3 separate regions of the Homo sapiens genome follow, and regions 2 and 3 are each linked to region 1. The links are contacts of gene promoters, found by promoter capture Hi-C in human tissues and cell types (Jung and others, 2019). All regions are on one chromosome and are shown on one strand. Each heading gives the region's core, a stretch centred on a gene start or on the middle of the fragment in contact. The rest is flanking DNA. Distances are from core to core; before and after follow the strand shown.

Region 1 (3,942 bases), core at 474-2,973:
ATGGGGCCCCTGCCTACCTTTGGGGGGGCACTGGAGTCATAGCAGTGCTCAGTCCCCAGATGGTCCACAGGTGCATCCTTTTTGTTCCTCATGGCACGGATGTTGACCAGCTGTTGCTGCCAGTCCTGGGGCTCCCAGACTGGCACCTTGAGGGGCTCAGCCCCCTCACCTTTCTCACTGTCCGAGCCCTCATAGGCCACACGCAGTCTCTGTGCTTTCCGCGGACGCTTCACGGGGCTGTGGCTTTTCCTCGCTTCTGCAAAAAGCACCACGCAGTCCCTCTGGTGGGGCCACAGGTGAAGGTAGGGTAGGGGTGCCATCCCGCCTGCTAGCTCACCCCTCACTCGTTCATGCCACAACTGTCCATCATCTAATACACTTGGGGTGCTCTGCCCTCTGCAGTCTGGGGTATGTGGGCCCTCCTTATGCCAGCGACCCTGACAAGGTCCATGTTAGCTCATGAGGACTCTAGCAACAGCCTGTACCAAGGTGCCCCCAATACATCTTCTATACTGCACCAGAGACAGTCTGCTAACACCCACATCAGGTTGTGTCACTCCCTTTTAAAAAATCCTGGCCGGCCGGGCGCGGTGGATCAAGCCTGTAATCCCAGCACTTTGGGAGGCCGAGGTGGGTGGATCACTTGAGGTCAGGAGTTCAAGACCAGCCTGGCCAATATGGCAAAACCCCATCTCTACTAAAAATACAAAAGTTAGCCGGGTGTGGTGGCAGGGGCCTATAGTCTCAGCTACTTGGGAGGCTGAGGCAGGAGAACTGCTTGAACCTGGGGGGCGGAGGTTGCAGTGAGCTGAGATCACAACACTCCACTACAGCCTGGGTGACAGAGCAAGACCCGATCTCAAAACAAACAACAAAACCTCCTAATTGACTTCCGTTTACTGTCATAATAAACTCCAAACTCTATCCTGGCATCAAAGCTCCTGCCACCCTGGCTGGCATCACCACCTGCCTGCTCCCAGCTGCACCAGTTCCTCCTGACATAGTCTGGACTACCCCTGGGGTCCCTGGGTGCCTATGGGAATCCAGCTCTGGCCAATTCTGCAGAAGTCCCAGCGGGACTAGCGCAGAGGCCCTGTCCGTGTCCCTCACTGCTCACTGCAGTGCTTGGCCCCCAGCAGGTCCTCAACGGCTGCAGGATAAATATAATAAGTGCCATGCCCTTTCCTGTTTTCCCTCAGAGGCACCCTCCCCCGAGCTGGGGGAGCAGGCTTCTGGCTGCGTGTGTCCTTGGCACCCAGCCTCTCCGAGGACAGCAAGTTCACTGCAGGAGGGCGGGGATGGGACCCACAGAGCCTGGAGTGGAGAGTCCCGGACAGAGTGGTGGGAAAGGAAGCGTTTTCTTGCTTGGGGCGAAAGGGGGCAGCGGAGCGGAGCGCCCGAAACCCAGCCCCTGCGGACCGCAATCTTTGGGAAAAAGGCGCAAGGTGGGAACGCAGGGCCGCACGTGGGAACCGTTCGCGGCTGCCGGGTTTGCAGCCCCTGCCCGCGCAGCTGGGAGCCGCAGGAGGCGGCCCGGGACTCCAGCCTGCAGCCCCTATCCCGCCTCCTCCCACGCTCCAGCCACGGCGCGGCGCTACCTGCTGCAGCCTCTCTTCTCCGGAGAGGCCCGGGCTCCTCCCTACACCCCCGCGGCCCAGCCCCGGGTCCCAGGCTCCGGCTCCGGGTCAGCATCCTCGCGCTCAAGGCGGTCATGCCGGACTCCTGCGGACTACACATCCCGGCGGCCCATGCGGCCCCGTCACGTGATGCAAGGATCGCCGGCCTTTCCGCCAGAGGGCGGCACAGAACTACAACTCCCAGCAAGCTCCCAAGGCGGCCCTCCGCGCAATGCCGCTACCGGAAGTGCGGGTCGCGCTTCCGGCGGCGTCCCGGGGCCAGGGGGGTGCGCCTTTCTCCGCGTCGGGGCGGCCCGGAGCGCGGTGGCGCGGCGCGGGGTAAGTGGCGGTCCCCACGGGGCAAGTGGCGGTCCCCACGGGGCAGCGGCCTAGAGAGGCGGACCCCGCAGTGTCCGGGTCCCGGGCCCTCACCCGCGCCCACTGCAACCCGACTCCGGAGCTCCGAGCATCCCTTAGTTTTAAGTCATGGCGGGTGCGAACGGGTCTCTGCTGCAGGCGGCTCCGTGACAGCTCCTGCTTCACATGGGTAGAGGAGAGACGGCAAACGTCGGGGCTCCCAGGACTTCGCGGCGGCAGTCCTAACCCGTGCACTGAGTCGGGCGGGGCGGGCGGCAGCGTCTGAGTAGAGAGCTCTCTAGACCAGGCCTGGTGTCTCCCGGGCTTTCCTAGGTGCCTGTTTGCGAGCTGGTCAGCTGGGCTGTAGTTGAGTTCTCCCAGGGAGTGTGGGAGGAAAGGTTATGCCCACCAGAGACCCAGGGTCCTGACGGCTGGAGGTCCGCAGTGGGGAAGGTGGGCAGAGGTGTTGCTCAGATGTCCCCATTCCTGTTTCGTTTGCACAGAGGGGTTTTCTGGTGCGTCCTGGTCCACCATGGCCAAACCAACAAGCAAAGATTCAGGCTTGAAGGAGAAGTTTAAGATTCTGTTGGGACTGGGAACACCGAGGCCAAATCCCAGGTCTGCAGAGGGTAAACAGACGGAGTTTATCATCACCGCGGAAATACTGAGAGTGAGTGAGCTACCTGTGTCTTTGCTAGGCTAGAGGGAAATGCAGAGAAGGCTGGGTTTGGTCTTGCACCAGGTTCTGTGGGAGACGGGTTGCTGGCAACTGTCTACACAGGAATGCTGTCTCCAGTACTTGGAGGCCGACATGTCCTTCCTCAGGAGACTTCGAAAGTCAGGATCTTGGTGACCTGGTTCAGGCACACTTGAGTTACTATTCAGATGTTGATGAAAGAAAGCCCATCTTATAGATGAGGCCTGAGTATCATCATCTTCACAGGTAAGGATATGTCCAGGTGTTACATGATAAGATGTGAGTTCCTGGGAGAAGTAGGTTCTTTATTTTATTTTTTTTTTGAGACTGAGTCTTGCTCTGTTGCCTAGGCTGGAGTGCAGTGGCACAATCTCTGCTCGCTGCTACCTCTGCCTCCCAGTTTCAAGTGGTTCTCCTGCCTCAGCCTCCTGAGTAGCTGGGACTACAGACACGTGCCACCACACCCATTTAATTTTTGTATTTTTAGTAGAGATGGAGTTTCACTATCTTGGCCAGGCTGGTCTTGAACTGCTGACCTCAGGTGATCTGCCCGCTTTGGCCTCCCAAAGTGCTGGGATTACAGGCATGAGCCATCGCACATGGGCTAGGTCGTTATCTTTTATGTGTGTTTGTGTCTTTGTCACACATGCCTGGCATTGTGTTTTGCCCATGAGTAAATGCTGAATTTTTGCACTTGTAAAGTTTTCTACTTAGAAACAACTAAAACGTTCATCAACTGATGAATAAAATATAGTCCATCCTGGCTGGGTGCGGTGGCTCACGCCTGTCATCCCAGCACTTTGGGAGGCCGAGGCGGGTGGATCACCTGAGGTCAGGAGTTTGAGACCAGCCTGGCCAACATGGCGAAACCCCGTCTCTACTAAAAATACCAAAAATTAGCCGGTCATAGTGGTGGGCGCCTGTAATTCCAGCTACTCGGGGGGCTGAGACGAGAATTGCTTGAACCCGGGAGGCGGAGGTTTCAGTGAGCCGTGATCGCGCCACTGCACTCCATCCTGGGGAAGAAGAGCAAAACTCCGTCTAAAAAAAAATTGTGCAGTTTGAAATTGTATTTCATGTTATGTTTTATCTCAATACAACATTTGCAGTTGTGAAAAAAAATTGCACATTCTCAACTCCTCGGGATGGAGCAGTAAAGCCCCTCAGTAAATCTTTTTTTTTTTTTTTTTTTGAGACCGAGTTTCGCTCTTGTCACCCAGGCTGGAGCGCAGGGGCGCGATCTCGGCTCACTGCAATCTCCGCCTCCTGGGT
Region 2 (4,073 bases), core at 816-3,315, 630 kb after region 1:
CCCTTGCCTGGCTGGTTGACAGACCCGGGGTGCTCACTGCTGAGACTTCAGAGATCGCAGCTGCTGTGAGAATACGGTGAAGGTACTATGTTCTGGAAGATGTTGTCATACACTTTTCCCCAGTTATTTTCAAACTTGACATGAGCCTATGTTGACTCACTGGGTGGGGTCCCTTCTTACGCAGCACACGTGGCAAGTGCCTGAATCGGGGCTGGAGGCACTTCAGAGCCTCTGAGGGGCCACCACTTCTGGCCCAAAATTGCAGGGTTGTAGATGAGGCTGCCTGTGGAGAACTGGTGTGAGGAGGAAGCTGTTTCCAACAAAGAGCACTTTCATCTGTTGAGATGGCTGTGGTGAGCAACTGAACGAGCCTACGTGTGTACCTGAATTTTCCCCATAACTCATTTCTTCCATATGAAGAAACACCAAACTATGTACAGAGAACTTTTTACAAAAGGCAGACCTTTTTTAAGCTGTGTAACCCACATAGCCTAACCGTCTGGCAGAATGACTACGAATAGGGGTCATTGTGCTGGTAAAAGCCTCTATTACGACTGTTAAGTTGGATGTTGGCAAAATTAAATTGTTACAGTATTTAGAGCTGCTGTAGCTGTTCCTTCACAACATGAAATAGGATAAATGACTAGTACGTCTTTCAGGTGGGTGGCAGTCAGAACATGCGTAATATTCTCTACCTGGTCTGTAGCTGTAACTGTGATGTACAGACAAAGCAAAAATTAAAAGAACTCATGAAAACAAATAATACAATGGTATTAGGATATACACTTTTGTGTTTTTAATCTTATAGAAGGTTATTTGCTGGCTATTGTTGGCCTCTAGTTCAGCCTGTTATTTAAATTCTTTTTTTTTCTTGAGACGGAGTCTCACTCTGTCGCCCAGGCTAGAGTGCAGTGGCCTGATCTCGGCTAACTGCAACCTCCGCCTCCTGGGTTTAAGCAATTCTCTGCCTCAGCCTCCGAGTAGCTGGGATTACGAGCGCCCACAACCACATCTGGCTAATTTTTTGTATTTTTGGTAGAGACGGAGATTCACCATCTTGGCCAGGCTGATGTTGAACTCCTGACCTCGTGATCCACCCACCTTGGCCTCCCAAAGTGTTGGGATTACAGACATGAGCCACCGCGCCCGGCCTAAATTCTAATATATGAATTATTTGTATTGAATTCATGTTCGGGGCCACGTTGTTATATGTATTGATATACAGCCTTGAATGTGAATAATTACTATATATTTTACAACTTTTTTCTGGCTTTATTACAAAAACTTTCTTTTTTTTTTTTTGAGACAGACTCTCGCCCTATCACCAGGCTGGAGTGCAGTGGCGAGATCTCAGCTCACTGCAACCTCTGCCTCCCGGGTTCACGCCATTCTCCTGCCGCAGCCTCCCGAGTAGCTTGGATTACCGGCGCCCACCACCGCGCCAGGCTAATTTTTGTATTTTCAGTGGAGACCGGGCCTCACCATGTTGGCCAGCGTGGTCTCGATCTCCTGACCGCCTGATCCTCCCGCCTCGGCCTCCCAAAGTGCTGGGATTACAGGCGTGAGCCACCAGGCCCCGCCCTTATTATATAAATTTTCTATTGGGTCAATGATTTAATCATATAATTTAATGAATCTGTTCTTTTTTTCCCCCCAAATATTTGTGCTTTAGGTGTAGTTACCAGATGATGAATTTTCCTCCTATGCTCCGTAGTCTTGTAATAAAAAGCATGTACAGTGTAGACGTTTGCTGGCATGGCTCTTCCTTTGACCAGTTCATGAACTGGAGTCAGGGTGGGGGTGAAGGCTAGGGTCGAGGTCTGGGTCAGGCGCTCGTGCACCGCTCGTGGGAGGTCGAGGCTGATGTCCGCTGCTCCCCATCAGCGTTAGTGCCCAGATCACCCCGTGCTCCGCTCCCGCCGGAAGCGGGCCCAGCCTCCTGCTTTTCGGGACCGGAACTTCCGCCTACCGCGTGACGCCGGGGCGGGCGCTCTACCAGGGCGGACCTGTGGGCGGGACAGAACTCAGAGGACGCTATTAAAAGCCGGACGCTTCCGGTGGAAGGGAGCTGTTGCGGGGCTTGCTGGGATCATGGCGGAGAATCACTGCGAGCTCCTGTCGCCGGCCCGGGGCGGCATCGGGGCGGGGCTGGGGGGCGGCCTGTGCCGCCGCTGCAGCGCTGGGCTCGGCGCCCTGGCCCAGCGCCCTGGCAGCGTGTCCAAGTGGGTCCGACTCAACGTCGGCGGCACCTACTTCCTCACCACTCGGCAGACCCTGTGCCGGGACCCGAAATCCTTCCTGTACCGCTTATGCCAGGCCGATCCCGACCTGGACTCAGACAAGGTGAGGGCCTCACGGGCCAGCCCGGAGGGTCCTGGCCTTCCCGGCCTGCGGCTCCTGCACACGCCCTGCTTCGTGCGGAGGAGACTTCAGCGGGAGCGGGCGACTCTCCTCGGGCTTCGAGCCCCGCGCTCCCTTGTCGCCAGCTCCTCCCCAGCTTGCCCCGATCCCCTACCCTGGGAGGGGAGGGTGAGGATGGCGCCCTGGCGTCCACTGCCTTTGAGGATCCTGAGTCGATTCACCTTGGGGGTGTCTCTTCCTCGCCCTCTTTGCTCTTTGGTGGAGGAGGCTTCCTAGACCCCGGACTTTGCTGTGATTCTACTTTCTTTTTCTCACTAGGTTCTTTTGCCCAGGGTGTGTGAACGCCTTCTCTTCTCTGTCCCAGGGTACTTGCTGGCTCTGGAAACAGAACCCTTGGCGTTGTTTCACATTCTGGACGTTTGAATTAACGCTGACGTGGGGGTTGATATGGGCGGCCCTTTTTTTCCCTGGTGACTTGCATTTAGAGAGTTGGCGCTCCATCCTTTCCATCCACAGCACGCAGCACCCACTCAGCACCTCTTAGAAGATGCGTCCGTAGTATATAGTATGATTTTTCGAAGGGGATTTTGCTCATATTAAGGGTTGCTTTAGGGATGTCCAGGAAGGGTCAGGTAAGGAATCTTTCAATCTGCTTTCTAATTGGCTTAGTTTTCCCACTGTCTTCGCAAAAGGACAGGAATTTCCAGGTTAGTTTGCAGCTTGTCTTTCATCAAGCGAAATGCTCATGCTGTTGGGTAGATGGTAATAGAAACCTTTTGCTACCTTTATTTATCAAGAGTTGTGGAGCCGAGGAACCGTGTCTTGGGAGTTGTGCAGGATTGAAACTCACAAAAAAGCCTGTTTGAAGAAGTTGTTACCTATATTTATTCAAGGCAGTTCACAAGCCTTATACTAACTTTGCGGGGTCTTTCAGTTGAGCTTACATGACTGCGCTTGGCTTTGTGCCTTGGCAGCCAACATTTGCCATGCAGGAGGCTTCCCAGAAAGGTTCGGATCCCTCTTCAAGTTTGAGAAGCCTGACTGAGACCATTCTCAGCATGGCATGACCGTGATCAGGAAGTGAGAATCTGGAGTTACTGCTAAGGCAGCCTTGTGGGTGGAAATGAGGGTTTGAGATGCCAACCCTCCTGTGCCTCCCCACAACTTCCAACTGTTTCCATTGCTCATTTGACCAAGCCCTCTACTCAGAGAATTGACCTCCCAGGAAATGACAGTCATCCCCAGGATAGAAATAGGCGTTTGTTAGCTGTGATTTTCCTTTTATAAGTGTGGGTGTATGTTTTACTGTTTGGTTTTTCTTTTTAAATAACAGGGCTTAGTGGTCACTCCCTTGCCTTTCTACTCAAGCATTCCTGTTTTGTATATGAAATTAGAGTTTAAATTGCTCTTGTCCATTGGGTTCTTTGAGGCAATGGTTGTCTATTCAGCACTGGAGCACTTGATTCCCAGTTGATGAACTTTAGCACAGTTAAGGTGGTTGATCCCTTTGCTTTACTGTTCCTTAAGACTTTGTTAAAAATTATGGGCCAGGCGCGGTGGCTCATGCCTGTAATCCCAACACTTTGGGAGGCCCAGGCAGGTGGATCTCGTTCAAAACCAACCGGGCCAATATGGTGATGCCCGGTCTCTACTAAAAATACAAAAAGGTGGGCGCGGTGGCTCACGTCTGTAATCCCAGCACTTTGGGAGGC
Region 3 (4,474 bases), core at 1,426-3,925, 860 kb after region 1:
AAAAAAAAAAAAAAAAAAAATTAGCCGGGTGCGGTGGTGTGCACCTGTAGTGCCAGGTACTTGGGAGGCTGAGGCAAGAGGATCAATGGAACCCAAGAGTTTGATGGAAGCTGCAGTGAACTGTGATCTCACCACTGCACTCCAACCTGGACGACTGAGGGAGATTCTGTCTCAAAAACTAAACAAAACAAACGAAGAAACAAAAACAGCATCCTGGCCGGGCATGGTGGCTCATGCCTGTAATCCCAGCACTTTGGGAGGCCAAGTCGGGCAGATCACCTGAGGTCAGGAGTTTGAAATCAGCCTGGACAACGTGGTGAAACCCCGTCTCTCCTAAAAATACAAAAATCAGCCGGGCATGGTGGCGCACGCATGTAGTCCTAGCTATTGGGGAAGCTGAGGCGGACAATCTCTTGAACCGGAAAGCAAAGGTTGCAGTGAGCCAAGATAGCGCCATTGCACTCCAGCCTGGGCATCGCAGTCAGACTCCTCTCAAAAAAAGCTGGAGGGGCTGGGCGTGGTGGCTCACGCCCGTAATCTCAGCACTTTGGGAGGCCGAGGCGGGCGGATCACAAGGTCAGGAGATCGAGACCACGGTGAAACCCCGTCTCTACTAAAAATACAAAAAATTAGCTGGGCGCAGTGGCAGGCGCCTGTAGTCCCAGCTACTCGGGAGGCTGAGGCAGGAGAATGGCGTGAACCCGAAAGGCGGAGCTTGCAGTGAGCCGAGATGGCGCCACTGCACTCCAGCCTGGGCGACAGAGCGAGACTCCGTCTCAAAAAAGAAAAAAAAAAAAAAAAAGCCGGGCGTGGTGGCAACTGTCTGTAATAATCCCAATCCCAGCTGCTCAGGAGGCTGAGGCAGGAGAATCACTTGAACCCGGGAGATGGAGGTTGCAGTGAGCTGAGGTCGTGCCACTGCACTCCAGCCTGGGCGACAGAGCAAGACTCCATCTCAAGAAAAAAAAAAAGTAATTAAGTTCTGCTACTATTTTATTTTTGAACAGGGTCTTGCTCTGTCGCCCAGCCTGGAGTGCAGTGGCATGAGCGCAGCTCACTGCAGCCTCCAGCTCCCAAGCTCAAGTGATCCTTCCACCTCAGCCTCCTGAGTAGCTGGGACTACAGCGCATCACCACATCCAGCTAATTTTCTCTTGTTCCTCTTTTCTTTTTTTCTGTAGAGAAAGAGTCTCACTATGTTGCCTAGGCTGATCTCAAACTCCTGGGCTCAAACGATGCTCCTGTCTCAGCCTCCCAAAGTGCTGGGATTACAAGCAAGAGTCACTGTACCCGGCCAACATGGATGAACTTTGAAAGTGCTATGCTAAGGCTAGGCGAAAGAAGTCAGTCACAAGAGACCACATATTTGTTGCATGATTTCATTTATATGAAATATGCAGAATACGCAAATCTATAAAGACAGAAAATAGATCATATTACTTAGGGCTGGGGTGATTAGCAAATTGGAGGGTGGTGGCTAAAGGTTTCTTCTTGGAGTGATGAAAGGTTTTAAAACTGACTATGGTGCTGTTTGCACAACTCTCTGACTATACTACATATCATTTAATTGTACACTTTAAATGGGAGAAATGCATGGTATGTGAATTATATTTCAATAAAGATCTTACCAAAAAATAGTAAGCTGATTGTGTTAACATAGTTTTATGAAAAAGTACAATATTTTCCCAAAGAAATTTAGTGAGACGAGTGACATAGTTATACATTTTTGCAAATATCTTTGTTGCGGGCTTAAAAGAAGACTACTGGCTCTCATACCTGCTTCTACATTCAATGTGTTACATCACACGTCATGCAGACTTTGTAATACTATGTAATATTTCTGCTTTTTTTTTTTTAGACACAGTCTCACTCTGTCGCCCAGGCTGGAGTGCAGTGGCGCCGTCTCGGCTCACTGCAACCTCCGCCTCCCGGGTTCAAGTTATTCTCCTGCCTCAGCCTCCCGAGTAGCTGGGATTACAGGCGCCCAGTACCACGCCCGACTAATGTTCGTATTTTTAGTAGAAACGGGGTTTCACCATGTTGGCCACGCTGTTCTCGAACTCCTGACCTCAGGTGATCCACCCGCCTCGGCCTCCCAAAGTGCTGGGATTACAGGCGTGAGCCACCGCGCCCGGCCCAGGTATTTTTTTGTCGTTGTTGGCTTTCTGATGTAAGAAACAACTGTCCCTTCTCCCCCGTTGACTTATTTCCTTCAGTTTGGACTCATATCGTAGTCAAGGTTATAATCCGTTGCTATCGCTGTTTATTTGAATCTCACACTGGTTCCGCTCTGGGGTAGGGTCACTGGGGGCGTCAATGAGATGCATGAGAATCGCCTTCCCACGGGGTCAGGAAACTGACAGGCCCAAGAGTGCATCTCAGCAAACGCTCCGTTTCCTGCGGGCAGCCTCAGATACTGGGGACCGTCCTGGGGTCTCAATTAAGCGCCCCCTACCCCAGCCCCTTTACGCCAAGAGCGTCCTGTTCAGCTCCCCCATCCTAGCTCCGCCCCTGGACGCCGCCGTCCAATCTCGGGATGGCCCCGCCTTTTCCGTGAGTTACGTCCCCGCCCCCATGCGCTGACAGGCCAGGCCTGCGGCTCGGCGCCGCGCAGGGAAGACCCGGAGCAGCGGTTTACCTAAGGAACGGGCCGCGCGGTCTTGCTGCGCATGCTCTGAAGTAGCGCGCCTGAGCGTTCCGCAAGGCCGGCTCCCCGGCGGGGTCGCGCGCGCGGTCACGGGGCTCGCTCCCGAGGGGCAGGTCGGGGCTGGGAGCTGGTGCCCGGGTCGGGGTGGCGGCGGCGGCCTGGGTCGCGGGGTCGACGCTCGCTGCTGCAGCGGCAGAGGCTGAAGGATCCGCCGCGGCGCTGTCGCGGGAGAGGGAGGGCCCCGCTGCCGTCGGTGAGGACAGGCCCCTGCGGGCGGGGAATGTCCCGCGTCCCCGGCGTGGACGCGCCCGCAGCCCGGCTCTCCCGGGGGTCCCGAGGGTTGCGGGTGCTGGGGAGGGGTCTGCGTCCCGGCGCTCAGGCCGCCTCCTGTGGGGTCTCCCGCGATTCCCTCCTTGCTCCTCGCCCCTCCATCCCCACCCCCCCGTCCCCTGGCCTAAGCCCGACACCCCCACATCAAGGATCCCCGCACTCGTCCGCCGTTTCCTGGCGGTGTCTGCCCCGCCCAGCGCTGCCTTCCTGGACCCGCAGCATCAGCCCCGTCCCACGGTTGCAGCTCGGGCGGTCCCAGTGACCTTGCACTTTTGCGGGTCGGGACGCACCCCGCTCCCGCTTCTGACCCTATAGATCTCCGGTGACGGCTTTCGAACTTTGTTGACCCACAGCCGACACTGAGAAATGCCTTTTACGCGTGTACTCTGTGCCTGTGGGTCTGGATGACTGAAGCACAAGTTTAAAGGGAGACGCTTGTTTAAGCTCACATGACGCAGCTGGATCTGTTCGGATTAAATTCCGTTCCATTCTCTTCCACCCCGTTCCAAAAGGCTGCTGCTAACCCATGGAGCCTGCACATAACGGGTCTGACGTAGTTGAAACCCTCGCTCTAAACCCTGCCTGTTGTTCCTTTATTCCTTGTACTGGAAGCTGAACTCCCATAGTCAGATAATCATGTGCAAACTCCAATTCCAACGAAATGGCTTATTTTTATTTGCATATTTCTGCTTTCCAAGGGCCAATATGATTTCCAGGGCTTGATCTAGATTTTCTCGTGTGATTATATCATGTTTCTCTTGTTCCTTTCCCAAGTGCTACTGGCGGGACGTGTGGAAGGAACAAGGCTGAGGTTGGGGCTAGATTGCGGAGTGTTTATGACGCCCAGCTGATGATGCACTAAGGCTGGAGATGGAGATGATTTAATTGGGGAGAGACATGCTGAAAGTTAAGCTTTAGGAAGAGTGACCTGTCAGCACCCTATGTGGAGAATTGGAGTGGCTGCTTGCCAAAGCTGGCAAGATCGTTCAGAGGCTTTGGCTTGGGCTAAAGAGGTCGTGGTAAGGGATCATGTCCTGAGTTGGTGGGAGTGGGAAGGAGAGGGAAGATGGGTATATCAGGCATAGAGGGAGAGAGATTTGAGGATGCATTAGGCTGTGGGAAGGAGTAAATAAACTTATATTATGATGGAGGGTGACTGGGGAATACCGGGCTGGGGGGGTCTCATTGGCCAAGCTCTCCCTTTCTGTGCGCTCTAATTTCTAAGTTGCTTTGGAGCTGTGGCTCTTGGGCAATTCTGCACCCCAGGGAACGTTCTGCAGTGTTGGTGGTCACAACGTGTGGTAGGGCATGACAGTGGGATCTGGCAGGTAGAGACCGGGGTTGCTGCTGAACACCCCACGCTGAACAGGACAGCCTCCCACAGCAGAATCATCCGGCCCAAAATGCCAACGGTGCTGAGATTGTGAAGTTCATTTTTAGAGTAAATTTTAATTATCTGGGCATCTCTGCCACCTTCAACCTCTTCAGGAGGAATGTC

Evidence for each region. The method cuts DNA at HindIII sites, captures the fragments that hold promoters and counts their contacts. A contact is called where the count stands out against the background at its distance.
Region 2: a contact is called between the fragment with the promoter of KCTD5 here and the fragment with the promoter of NTHL1 in region 1, in 1 of the 25 tissues and cell types used here (spleen).
Region 3: a contact is called between the fragment with the promoter of FLYWCH1 here and the fragment with the promoter of NTHL1 in region 1, in 1 of the 25 tissues and cell types used here (lymphoblastoid cells).

Annotation. Positions count from the first base shown.
Region 1 is chr16:2,046,111-2,050,052 of GRCh38, forward strand. NTHL1 (nth like DNA glycosylase 1) reads right to left here and starts at 1,724. Exons shown (of 6, transcript NM_002528.7): 1 at 1,599-1,724; 2 at 18-256. The coding sequence starts at 1,713. It overlaps TSC2 (TSC complex subunit 2), which reads left to right and starts at 1,875. Exons shown (of 42, transcript NM_000548.5): 1 at 1,875-1,955; 2 at 2,477-2,643. The coding sequence starts at 2,506. RefSeq lists enhancers at 1,128-1,627, 1,219-1,278, 1,729-1,818 and a silencer at 1,909-2,138. The HindIII fragment of the contact is 27,107 bases long and covers 1-3,942 here.
Region 2 is chr16:2,680,458-2,684,530 of GRCh38, forward strand. It overlaps KCTD5 (potassium channel tetramerization domain containing 5), which reads left to right and starts at 2,066. Exons shown (of 6, transcript NM_018992.4): 1 at 2,066-2,343. The coding sequence starts at 2,092. RefSeq lists a silencer at 2,149-2,328 and enhancers at 2,424-3,034, 2,579-2,628, 2,699-2,748. The HindIII fragment of the contact is 14,940 bases long and covers 1-4,073 here.
Region 3 is chr16:2,909,256-2,913,729 of GRCh38, forward strand. FLYWCH1 (FLYWCH-type zinc finger 1) reads left to right here and starts at 2,676. Exons shown (of 10, transcript NM_001308068.2): 1 at 2,676-2,899. RefSeq lists silencers at 2,427-2,486, 2,537-2,846, 2,867-3,016, 3,047-3,146, 3,120-3,309. The HindIII fragment of the contact is 21,473 bases long and covers 1-4,327 here.